Regions from separate parts of the Homo sapiens genome. Here all the other regions are linked to region 1. The links are contacts of gene promoters, found by promoter capture Hi-C in blood cells and fetal thymus (Javierre and others, 2016). All regions are on one chromosome and are shown on one strand. The core of a region is centred on a gene start or on the middle of the fragment in contact, and the rest is flanking DNA. Distances in the headings are between cores, read along the strand shown.

Region 1 (3,572 bases), core at 642-3,141:
TTTGGCCATGTTGGACAGGCTGGTCTGGAACTCCTGACCTCAAGTGATCCGCCAGCCTCGGCCTCCCAAAGTGCCGGGATTACAGGTGTGAGCCACCGTACCTGGCCTTCCTATGCTTTTTTGTTAAACTCTTCCACAGGACTTTAATAGTTCCTGCTAAATTTCAACTTGTTAGATTTAGTCTCTGCTCAGTTTGTCATGCAGTAGATAAGGCAACCCTTCCTGCTTCAGGTCATCCACAACTTCCATGACTGCTGCTGTATTCTTATCCAAGTCACTGATGGCACCCTGAATTGGCTGGCCAGGGCAGGAGGTTTGGGCAGGCCCCTAGCAGCCTCATCTGCTGGTCCCTCCTCTTCATCAGCCACCTCTGGGCTAGTCTTTAATAAGCCTCAGTGCTATCATCCAGCATTGATTTCACTTTCGCATCTAAGATGTGAATTGTCAAATGCCCTGTTGAAATCTGCATTTGCTGTATCTGCAGCATCCGCCTACCTGGTACTCCTGCAAAAAAGAAAGATACTGTGTAAATCTGGTATTCTCTTTTCCTTTAGTGTTTAATCACAAAATTTCACTTAGTGCTGATTAAGCTCACTGGCCTGTAATTTTCATCTCCATCTTCTGTCCTGTGAAAATTCAGCACTGCTTGCCCTTTTAGGACTTCTGGCACTTTGCCTGATTTTCCCAGATTTCCAAGGGAGGAACTCAGTGGGTTTTCACTCTCGTCTTGTTTAAACCTTACATCCAGTTTGGCAGATGATATGCCCATTTGTTTTATCCCGTAATTCATGCCGCCAGATTTTTTGGCATCAGGATCACAATCCTACTCATCTGAAACCTACTTAGGTGGTGCTTTTCTGCCACATTCCACTTCCTTGTGATATTTAGAAATGTCTTGTTAGCCTGTTTCCATAGAGAATGGCAAGAGCCCTCAAGTAGAGGCCACACCTAAAATTAAGCTTGATAATGGAATGTATGTTTTTCCTTCGGTTACTCTCCGCTCTTTCCCTTTTCCATCCCCTTTCCTTTTATTTTTCTCCCCGCTCTGCACCTGCCAGCTGGCCCCCAAGGAAATTAAGGGCTCCTCTTCTGGTGTGAAATGCTGGCTCCCTGAAAACATCATTTTAAAAAGCATGTTAATAAAGCAAAGCCAAGTGTATTATGCACTGCGGTCAAGAGCACTACTTCACAGTCTTTAGTCTTCGGAGGAGGAGGGGGAAATGCAGGATATTTATGAGGATTCTGGGGTCTTCCTTAAGGCTAGTCTTTCAATGCAGGGCTTGAGTAGGGTTAGGCCAAGTTCATGATATAATGGTCCAAGGTTGGGGAATAAATTAGAAGTACCGAATGTTATCTTCTAGCCTTGGGTCCTTGGGTGGGTTTCTTAAATTTTTTGAGCTTCAGGTTCCTCATCTGTGAAAGGGTTAGATAAGATTCAGTGAGATAATGTGTGACTCTGGCACATGGTGAGCTCTAGATAAATGGCGCTTTTGTGTCCATCAGTCTCATTCCCAAAGCCTAGGCTTTCGGGTCGGTCATCCGGCTGCCCGACCCGCGACGGCGCAGGGGAATCGGCGAGCGTGGCGGGGTGCTGCGCTGCGCCCCTCAGCCGGCAGAGGCCGCCAGCGCGCCCTCGGTCCGGACGGTGCCCGCCCCTGCCACCGCCTCCCCGCGCATGGCTGCCCCGGCGGCTGCCTGACCGCCGCCCGCCACCTCGGCGGCCTCGCAACCCGTGGGAGCCCGTGGCCATCGCAGACCTAGAGGACACGTTGGGCGGCGCAGTCGCCGCGGCAAGGTCGGCGGGCGGCGCGGCGCGAGGGACGGCGAGCGGGGGGCGGCCCGGCCCGGGTCCTCGCGGGTCCTCGGCGGGCCCGGGGGAGGGCCCTCTTTGTGGCTGCAGTTGGCAAGATGGCGCCGGTGGGGGTGGAGAAGAAGCTGCTGCTAGGTCCCAACGGGCCCGCGGTGGCGGCCGCCGGCGACCTGACCAGTGAGGAGGAGGAAGGCCAGAGCCTATGGTGAGGCCGCGGGCGGTCGGGCCGGGCCGTGGGGGGCGCGGCCTCTGGGCCGGACCGTCGGACACACTGAGGGGCCGACGCGAGCCGGGCCATCCCAGCCCGGCCCGGGGCTGACCACTCTTGCCATTGTCGCCACAGGTCCTCCATTCTGAGCGAAGTGTCCACCCGCGCCAGGTCCAAGCTGCCGTCCGGCAAGAACATCCTGGTCTTCGGTGAGCGCCGGCGGCGGGGCGTTGCCCCAGGTCGCTGGGGTGGGCGAGGCGGGCGCCCCTCCCTCAGGTCCCCGCCTTCCCCGTTCCAGCCGCCTGCCCGCAGCCTGGCGGGAAAGGGACCGTCGGCCCTGGCCGGTCAGCTGGAGAGTGGTCAAGCCTCCAGCGCCTGAGGGTGGGATGCTGCCCTCTTTGGAGAGCGTAGTGGTGCTTTGGGGTTGTCGGCATATTGTTTCAGTCACTTGGCCCTCTATGCCTTCATTGCCTCGACGGTTACCAAATTGAGGTCGTGGAGAGGGGAAGCTAGTAGATGAGATTAGGTGGAGAAGGTGGGAGAACGAGGTGACCTGGGCTCGGAGCTGTGGGGAAATGACCACGGGAGCCTTCTTTGAGCCTCATCAGTAGTGCATAGTCCGAGGTTTTAGGGACTTTGCAGAGGACAGAGAGTCAGCACTGGGGACGTTTCCTCCATTATGCTAGCCCTCACTGCTAGGTTACCTGAGTCAGGTCCCTTACTCCCTCTGGCCTCACTCTCCTCAAGTGAGGGAGTTTGGGTACATTCACACAGCAAGTCCATTTGTTGCTTGGGACCTGTGGGCTGGGCACAGGCTCAGCATAGGCGACTCTTAAACACTATAGAAGAATCTCAGTCTGGTGGAAGACAGATGTATTGGTGATTGCATTGCACCATGCCGATTATTGTGGAAGCATTACACTGCTTAGAGCTGGTGAAGGAGGATGATTCGGGGGTTGAGTATTTTGCAGAAAAGTGTCAGTATGCAGGGACACAGATGACAAGAGGGTGTGGGGTTTGGAAACTGCTAGAAGCGCCTTGTGGTTGGTGGCTGCTAAGGTAAGTTGGGGGCAGATTGTGGGAAGGCTGAAGAGTTAGTGCTGTTTCCTGAAGTTCTCTGATTTTTCAAATGGCTTTTATCTCACCTCCATCCCCCAATTCCCATGGGAATCACTGCCTTGGTAGTTTTCCTACTGTTAGAATGTGTGACCTTTCTCAGGAATTGACTGTGGTAGGTAATACCGGACCCTTAGAGATCTTCAAGAAGTGGGGGATCAAGATCACCAGATCTGAGTTTTAGAAAGAACGCTGCCTGCAGAGGGACAGTAGCTCAAAATGAGCAGGTACTGAAGTCAGGCTGACAGGTCCTCACCTTGGTCTGGATGCAGAGGGCCTGAATAAGGTAGAGGCATTGGAGATGGAGAGGAGGTCTTTGATCTGTGGACTGACTGCCTTTCAATTCTCATGTTCTGTAATTCCATATTATTAAATGGCAGAAGTGCCTAGTAATGTTTGGCGATGGTTCTCCTTGATGTTTAAGGATCCGGGGAAGGG
Region 2 (3,171 bases), core at 597-3,096, 170 kb after region 1:
CTCAAGTGGTCCACCCACCTCGGCCTCCCAAAGTGCTGGGAGTACAGCTGTGAGCCCCCGTGCCCAGCCAAAAAAATCCTATGTTTCTCATTGTTCATTGTTGGTATTCAGGAACACTACTGCTTTTGTGTCTGGTAACCTTGTGGAACTCAATCAGTTCTAGTGATTTGACTGTAGATTCTCTTAGATTTTCTGTGTAGATAATTCTATTAGATTTTTCCTCTTGTCAATCTCTATACCTTTTGTTTTTCTTGTCATATTGAACTAAGGTCTCTATCACAATGTTGAATACAAGAGAAGCTAGTAAGCATCTCTAAGGAAATGCTCCTGAAGTGTCACCTAAAATACAATTTGTGCAGGTTTGGATAGATGTCTATTTTATTTTATTTTATTTATTTATTTTTTGAGATGGAGTCTCACTCTGTCGCCCAGGCTGGAGTGCAGTGGCACGATCTCGGCTCACTGCAAGCTCTGCCTCCCGGGTTCATGCCATTCTCCTGCCTCAGCCTCCTGAGAAGCTGGGACTACAGGCACACATCACTGTGCCTGGCTTCTTGACACCTCTTTTATTATTTTTTAGACAGGGTCTCACTCTGTCACTCAGATTGGAGTGCAGTGGCACCATCAGAGCTCTCTGTAGCCTTGACCTCCTGGGTTCAAGCCATCCTCCCACCTCAGCCTCCTGAGTAGCTGGAACAACAGGCATGTGCCACCATGCTTGGCTAATTTTTAAATTTTTTTGTAGAGACAGGGTCTCCCTATGTTGTCCAGTCTGGTCTCAAACTCCTGGACCAAAGGGACCCATCCACCTCAGCCTCCCAACGTGCTGGGATTACAGGTGTGAGCCACCACACCCAGCCCAACAACCACTGATGGATGTTCTCACTCATTGTTCTGTCTCAATCTCTTATTTTCTCTCTCTCTGTGTGCTGTGTTCTGGGTAATTTCCCCATACCTTTCAGTTAACAGTTCCCTCCTTCAGCTATGTCTGATCTGTTTTTGAATTCATCTATTGACATTTTTATTTCAATAACTATATTTTCTATTCTAGACACTGTACTTTTTAAAAATCTGTCTATTTTGTCCTCATAGTGTCTTACTCTTTTCTCAGGACTCTTATGTCTATAATCCCTTAAAATATATTATTATTTTCAGACAGCTCTTCTATTATCTCATATTCTCAGGATTCTAATCCATTTGTTGTGTTTGTTGATTCTTAGTAATGGGGATTTTTTAAAATCAGGTGTTTAGTAGTTTTGAATTATTAGTTCATTTTTGACAAGGTTTTCCCCCCACCCCCACTGTGAGAATCTCTTCATGCCTTGATTGTGATTTTGCATTTGTTTCTATCAGGAGTCCAAGGATATCAGCAGAATGTCATCAGACTGGGATCAGTTTTTATGGTAATTCCCAGGGATGAAGGTTTCTGGGCTGCATGAAGGTTTCTAGGCTGCAGATAACAAAAATTCAAACTCCAATCTGTACAAAGGGCAGGCTTAAGCTTTCTATTTCTCAAGGAAGACTTCCTCTCCGCCCACTCAAAGCTCAGGCAGAGATGAACATGTTTTCTTATTCCTCTGTGTTGGGAATAAGAAGGGTATGTGTCTTTGTCCATCTTTTCCCTAAGGAGGTAGTCTTTCCAGGGCGCTGGCTTTATACAGGGTTTTCAGTTCTAAATTCCCACTTTGCTTAGGATCAAGGCCTTATTTCCTGACTTGAGAGTGCATGAAAATCCAGGCTGTAGGTTCCTGAGACAATACCTCTTGGACCATTCCCACTCATACTTTGTAGCTTATGTGATCACTGCCCTGTTTGCCATTTCTGGCGCCTGTGTGTTTTCATTTCTTTTTTGCCAGCTCATTCATTCAGTTAAAGCAATACTGGTTACATTTCCCCTGGTATTTTTAGGTAAGCACAGTGGGAAGATGTTCAGGGTTCATTGGTTTTTCATCTTGCTGGAACTAAAAATGTCTTCTCAGGCTCCTTGTTTAGGAACTTGTCCTCTGCCTGTCCTTTTACCTTGTCCTCTGCTTGTCCCTTTTCTGAGAGTCCTTATTTGGCCCTCCTGTCCTTTCTCCCTGTATCGGAGGTCCTCATCTGCTTCACCAAGACCTCTGGATCCCTGGACCCTAATAGTTTTTAACAAGAAGGCAGGATGAAATGTACTCATAAAGCTAAGTTTGAAGCTTTTTTCTGCTACTTACCAGCTGAGTGACCTGGGGGCAAGTTACTTGGCCATTCTAGGCCAATTTCCTCATGTGTAACGTGAGTGAAACAGTGAACAAGAGGGCTCTGGAGGCAGGCTGTGAATGTGCAATGAACAAAGGGACTTGGGAATTGGGGTCTTCATTGACTGGCAAGGGGTTAGGTGGTTGTGCCCTGTGGTTAAACAGGTGATGGGCAGGGATTCAATTCCATGAGTCCTCAGGCACGGTGTCAAGCAATTTACATTTAATCCTCAGGATTGAATGTCAGTTCTGCAAGGAATGTGACTGTCTCATGTTACAGATGAGGAAACAGGCTGGGAATGGTTTAGTAACTTGCCCAGTTCTGTCTCTTTCCACTAGATGACTGCTTTGGGCTGAACATCCTTCTGATCCAAACATCCTTTATAGGGATATTCACTGGAGACCTAACGCTGCTTTAGAAGTGATTTTTAAAAAAAATTCCCATTTTGTTTTATTTTATTGACTTATGGGAGAGTAATTTTCTTCTTTGAATTTTGGGAATGGGGTCCTTCTGGGGTGATCTCCTGTCAAGTGTGAGCTGGCACAGGAGTTCGGAGGAACAGCTGGTTGCTACACCTCCCCTTCCCCTAAAGAGAACAAAGGCTCAGGCCCTCTTTGACCACCAGGTAAGTAAGAGTTCCCCACTCTCACTCCAACACACAGATAGGCTTTTTGGAGCATTTTCTGCCTAGCTACCCCTCTTGCACCCAGCTGCCTCTGCCTGGGCCCCACTGATGTTCTGAGTCCCTGACCCAGGCACAGATATGGGAGGTGAGGTGTGTCTCTCTGTTTGGTGACTTTCCAGGTGCCAAGACACACCTGATCAGCATTCTGGATGCAGGCACTCCCCATCACCCCTTACTTACAGAAATGGGCCACAGGATGAAGGGTATGTATCTATGAATGGCAAAGCTGTACAGTAAGATGAAGAAGCTGAAGAAGG
Region 3 (2,500 bases), core at 1-2,500, 220 kb after region 1:
AACGTTTTCTTCAGACTTGGGGTATGTGATTGCCAGGAAGGGAAACTTTACAAGGAAGCCAGGCTAGGCCTTCAGTGCTGTGCAGGCCTCTCTGTGTGGGGCCAAGGTCTCTGGCTTCTGTGGTTCTCTTCTGACCTGCCTCTAGTGCCCCCACCTGCAAACCTCAGCCAGCCAGGTGGTGCCCCTGCCACCATTCTGAGCTCACATCTTTATGACCTGACCACTGCTGGGCTTAATGCCGTTTAACTCAGTTCTTCTCAAAGTGTGGTCCCTGGACCAGCAGCGGAAGCATCACCTGGAAACTTGTTAGAAATGCACATTTTCAGCTGGGTGTGGTGGATCCCACCTGTAATCCCAGCACTTTGGGAGGCTGAGGCATGCGGATCACCTGAGGTCAGGAGTTCAAGACCAGCCTGGCCAACATGGTGAAACCCCATCTCTACTAAAAAATACAAAAATTAGTCTGGCGTGGTGGTATGTGTGTGCCTATAATCCCAGCCACTTGGGAGGCTGAGGCAGGAGAATGGCTTGAACCCAGGAGGCGGAGGTTGCAGTGAGCTGAGATCATACCACTGCACTCCAGCCTGGGTGACAGAGTGAGACTCTGTCTCAAAAAAAAAAAAAAAGAAAGAAATGCAAATTTTCTAGTCACATCCCAGACCTGCTGAATTAGAAATTCTAGGGATGAGGCCCAGCAATCTGTGTTTTATCAAGCCCTCCAGGTGACTCGAATGCATGCTTTGTTTGTTTTCATATTTGAGAACCACTTATTTAACCTTCATGGGGTCTGGCTCTTAGTTCAAATTCTTGAGACAAAGAATCTGATTGGTTCAGCTTTGGTCAGGTGTCCAGCCCTGGTTCAATCAGGTGTTGGGGACAGGACCCCAAGGCACAAACATGGCTGCTTAGGCCTATTCCATCAGTGAGGATGCATCTAGAGACAGAGTCTCTTAGAAGAAAGGGGGCTGTGGAGGTCCTGATCAGCACCTATGTTTCAAAGCTGTAAGCACAACCTATGATGCCAGCTTTAAGGCTCTGCATGAAGGAGACAGACTGTCCCTACAGCCAGTTAACACTGGCACAGCTGCTGGGCTGGACAGTTCGGTCCCAGTCTGGGTACCTGCAGCAATAGCTACCATTCTTCTGTAAGTCTGTCTTTTAAAATTGAAAGATGTGAGTGGGCCGTTTTTGGTGAATAAGAATTTCCATCTCCCCAAATATCTGTCTAAATTGCACAAATCCACAAATCGAAAGATCTGAGGTTAGTGCATTTTGCCTTTGCTAATTTGCTTTTCCTGAGCAGGCACTCAATTGCAAACCTAAGTTGTATCTAATGATATTTGAATAGGAAGGGATATAAATGCACTCCTCTATTTAAGGAAATCTACCTCAGGAGGCAGAGAGAGATGGACAGACCAGGAAAGATGAGCAGAAGGAGACCAGAGGGATGAATGGGGAGCTAGGAAGTAAGGAAAGAGAGGATGGAAGAATGGAAAGGAAGATGGATGGGCAGAGGATGGATGGACAGAGGGACAGCAGGGAGAGGGAGGAAGTGCCTGGGTTATGGCTTTGAATCTGCCTTGGATTTGTTGGCCCAGGTCCCATGGGTGCTGTGGGCCATGGCCAAGTGAGAGTAGTGTTAGTGTGCCTGGCATCAAGGGTCAGGGCGCCTCTTGCTTCCCAGAGGAACGCTGGACAAAGGGCAAGGTCGTCTGCAGAGGGTTTGAGCATCCTGGCAGAAAGGGGCACTGTCAGGCTGTCTTCCTCCCTCTTGGGCATCGTTCTTACCAGTTTCCTTGGGCAGAGCCCCCAGAACGTCACCCCCAACCCGACCCTCTTGGGGCTGTACCTCATGCATGTGGTCCCTCTGCTTAAGCAAACTCACCCTATTTAGGTCCGTGGTAGTCACCACATGTTGCCTCAAGTGGACAGCTTTGGATGGTTTCTCCAGGGCTTGACCGTGTTCTAGTTGAGACTCACCTGCCATCAAAGAGGCAGCTGCTGATGAGCCCTCAGCCTCGGCATTGCTGGGCCATGCATGCAGCTTTGGGGTGTGGGGCAGGTCAGGGTGGAAGGGGGACACAGCCTGAGCCTGGTGGCAGATGTGGCTTCTCCTCCCGGCAGGGGAGTGAGGAGGTCCTCCTGCTTCACTCTCTCTGCCGCCTTGATTCTCATATTCAGCAAAGTCCCCAGGCAGGGGGAGTAACAGACATTTCTCAAGGCCTCCTGGCTGTCTCCTTTTCCCCTGAGTTAGTGATTCTCTTTTTGTTTTCCTTTAGGTGTCATCTGTACGGTTGATGGAGAGGTCGATTCACAGCGCAAGATACATTTTTGTAGAAAACCTGTATAGAAGGTACTGTAGTTTGAATAGTTGATAATTTATTAAACCACTAATTTTTCAAAATGAAATAGAAACTTGTTTATTCGATTGACAGATATGGAGTACCCGCTGTTGTATCAGTTATCCATTGCCATAGCAATGCGGTGTAACAAACAGCCA

Evidence for each region. The method cuts DNA at HindIII sites, captures the fragments that hold promoters and counts their contacts. A CHiCAGO score of 5 or more calls a contact.
Region 2: a fragment that was not itself captured here is called in contact with the fragment with the promoter of DYNC1LI2 in region 1 in 7 of 17 cell types (activated CD4 T cells, naive CD4 T cells, naive CD8 T cells and 4 more); the score reaches 7.9 in activated CD4 T cells.
Region 3: a fragment that was not itself captured here is called in contact with the fragment with the promoter of DYNC1LI2 in region 1 in 3 of 17 cell types (naive CD8 T cells, total CD8 T cells and fetal thymus); the score reaches 6.3 in naive CD8 T cells.

Annotation. Positions count from the first base shown.
Region 1 is chr16:66,749,928-66,753,499 of GRCh38, reverse strand. It overlaps DYNC1LI2 (dynein cytoplasmic 1 light intermediate chain 2), which reads left to right and starts at 1,891. Exons shown (of 13, transcript NM_006141.3): 1 at 1,891-2,015; 2 at 2,154-2,227. The coding sequence starts at 1,909. It overlaps DYNC1LI2-DT (DYNC1LI2 divergent transcript), which reads right to left and starts at 1,748. Exons shown (of 2, transcript NR_133569.1): 1 at 600-1,748; 2 at 1-504. RefSeq lists an enhancer at 1,535-2,250 and a silencer at 1,464-2,263. The HindIII fragment of the contact is 3,643 bases long and covers 962-3,572 here.
Region 2 is chr16:66,580,108-66,583,278 of GRCh38, reverse strand. It overlaps CMTM2 (CKLF like MARVEL transmembrane domain containing 2), which reads right to left. Exons shown (of 4, transcript NM_144673.3): 2 at 3,095-3,171. Among named protein-coding and RNA genes, the nearest start is that of CMTM2, 2.2 kb to the right of the region's middle. The HindIII fragment of the contact is 685 bases long and covers 1,504-2,188 here.
Region 3 is chr16:66,528,847-66,531,346 of GRCh38, reverse strand. It overlaps TK2 (thymidine kinase 2), which reads left to right. Exons shown (of 10, transcript NM_004614.5): 6 at 2,280-2,353. Among named protein-coding and RNA genes, the nearest start is that of TK2, 20 kb to the left of the region's middle. The HindIII fragment of the contact is 3,419 bases long and covers 1-2,500 here.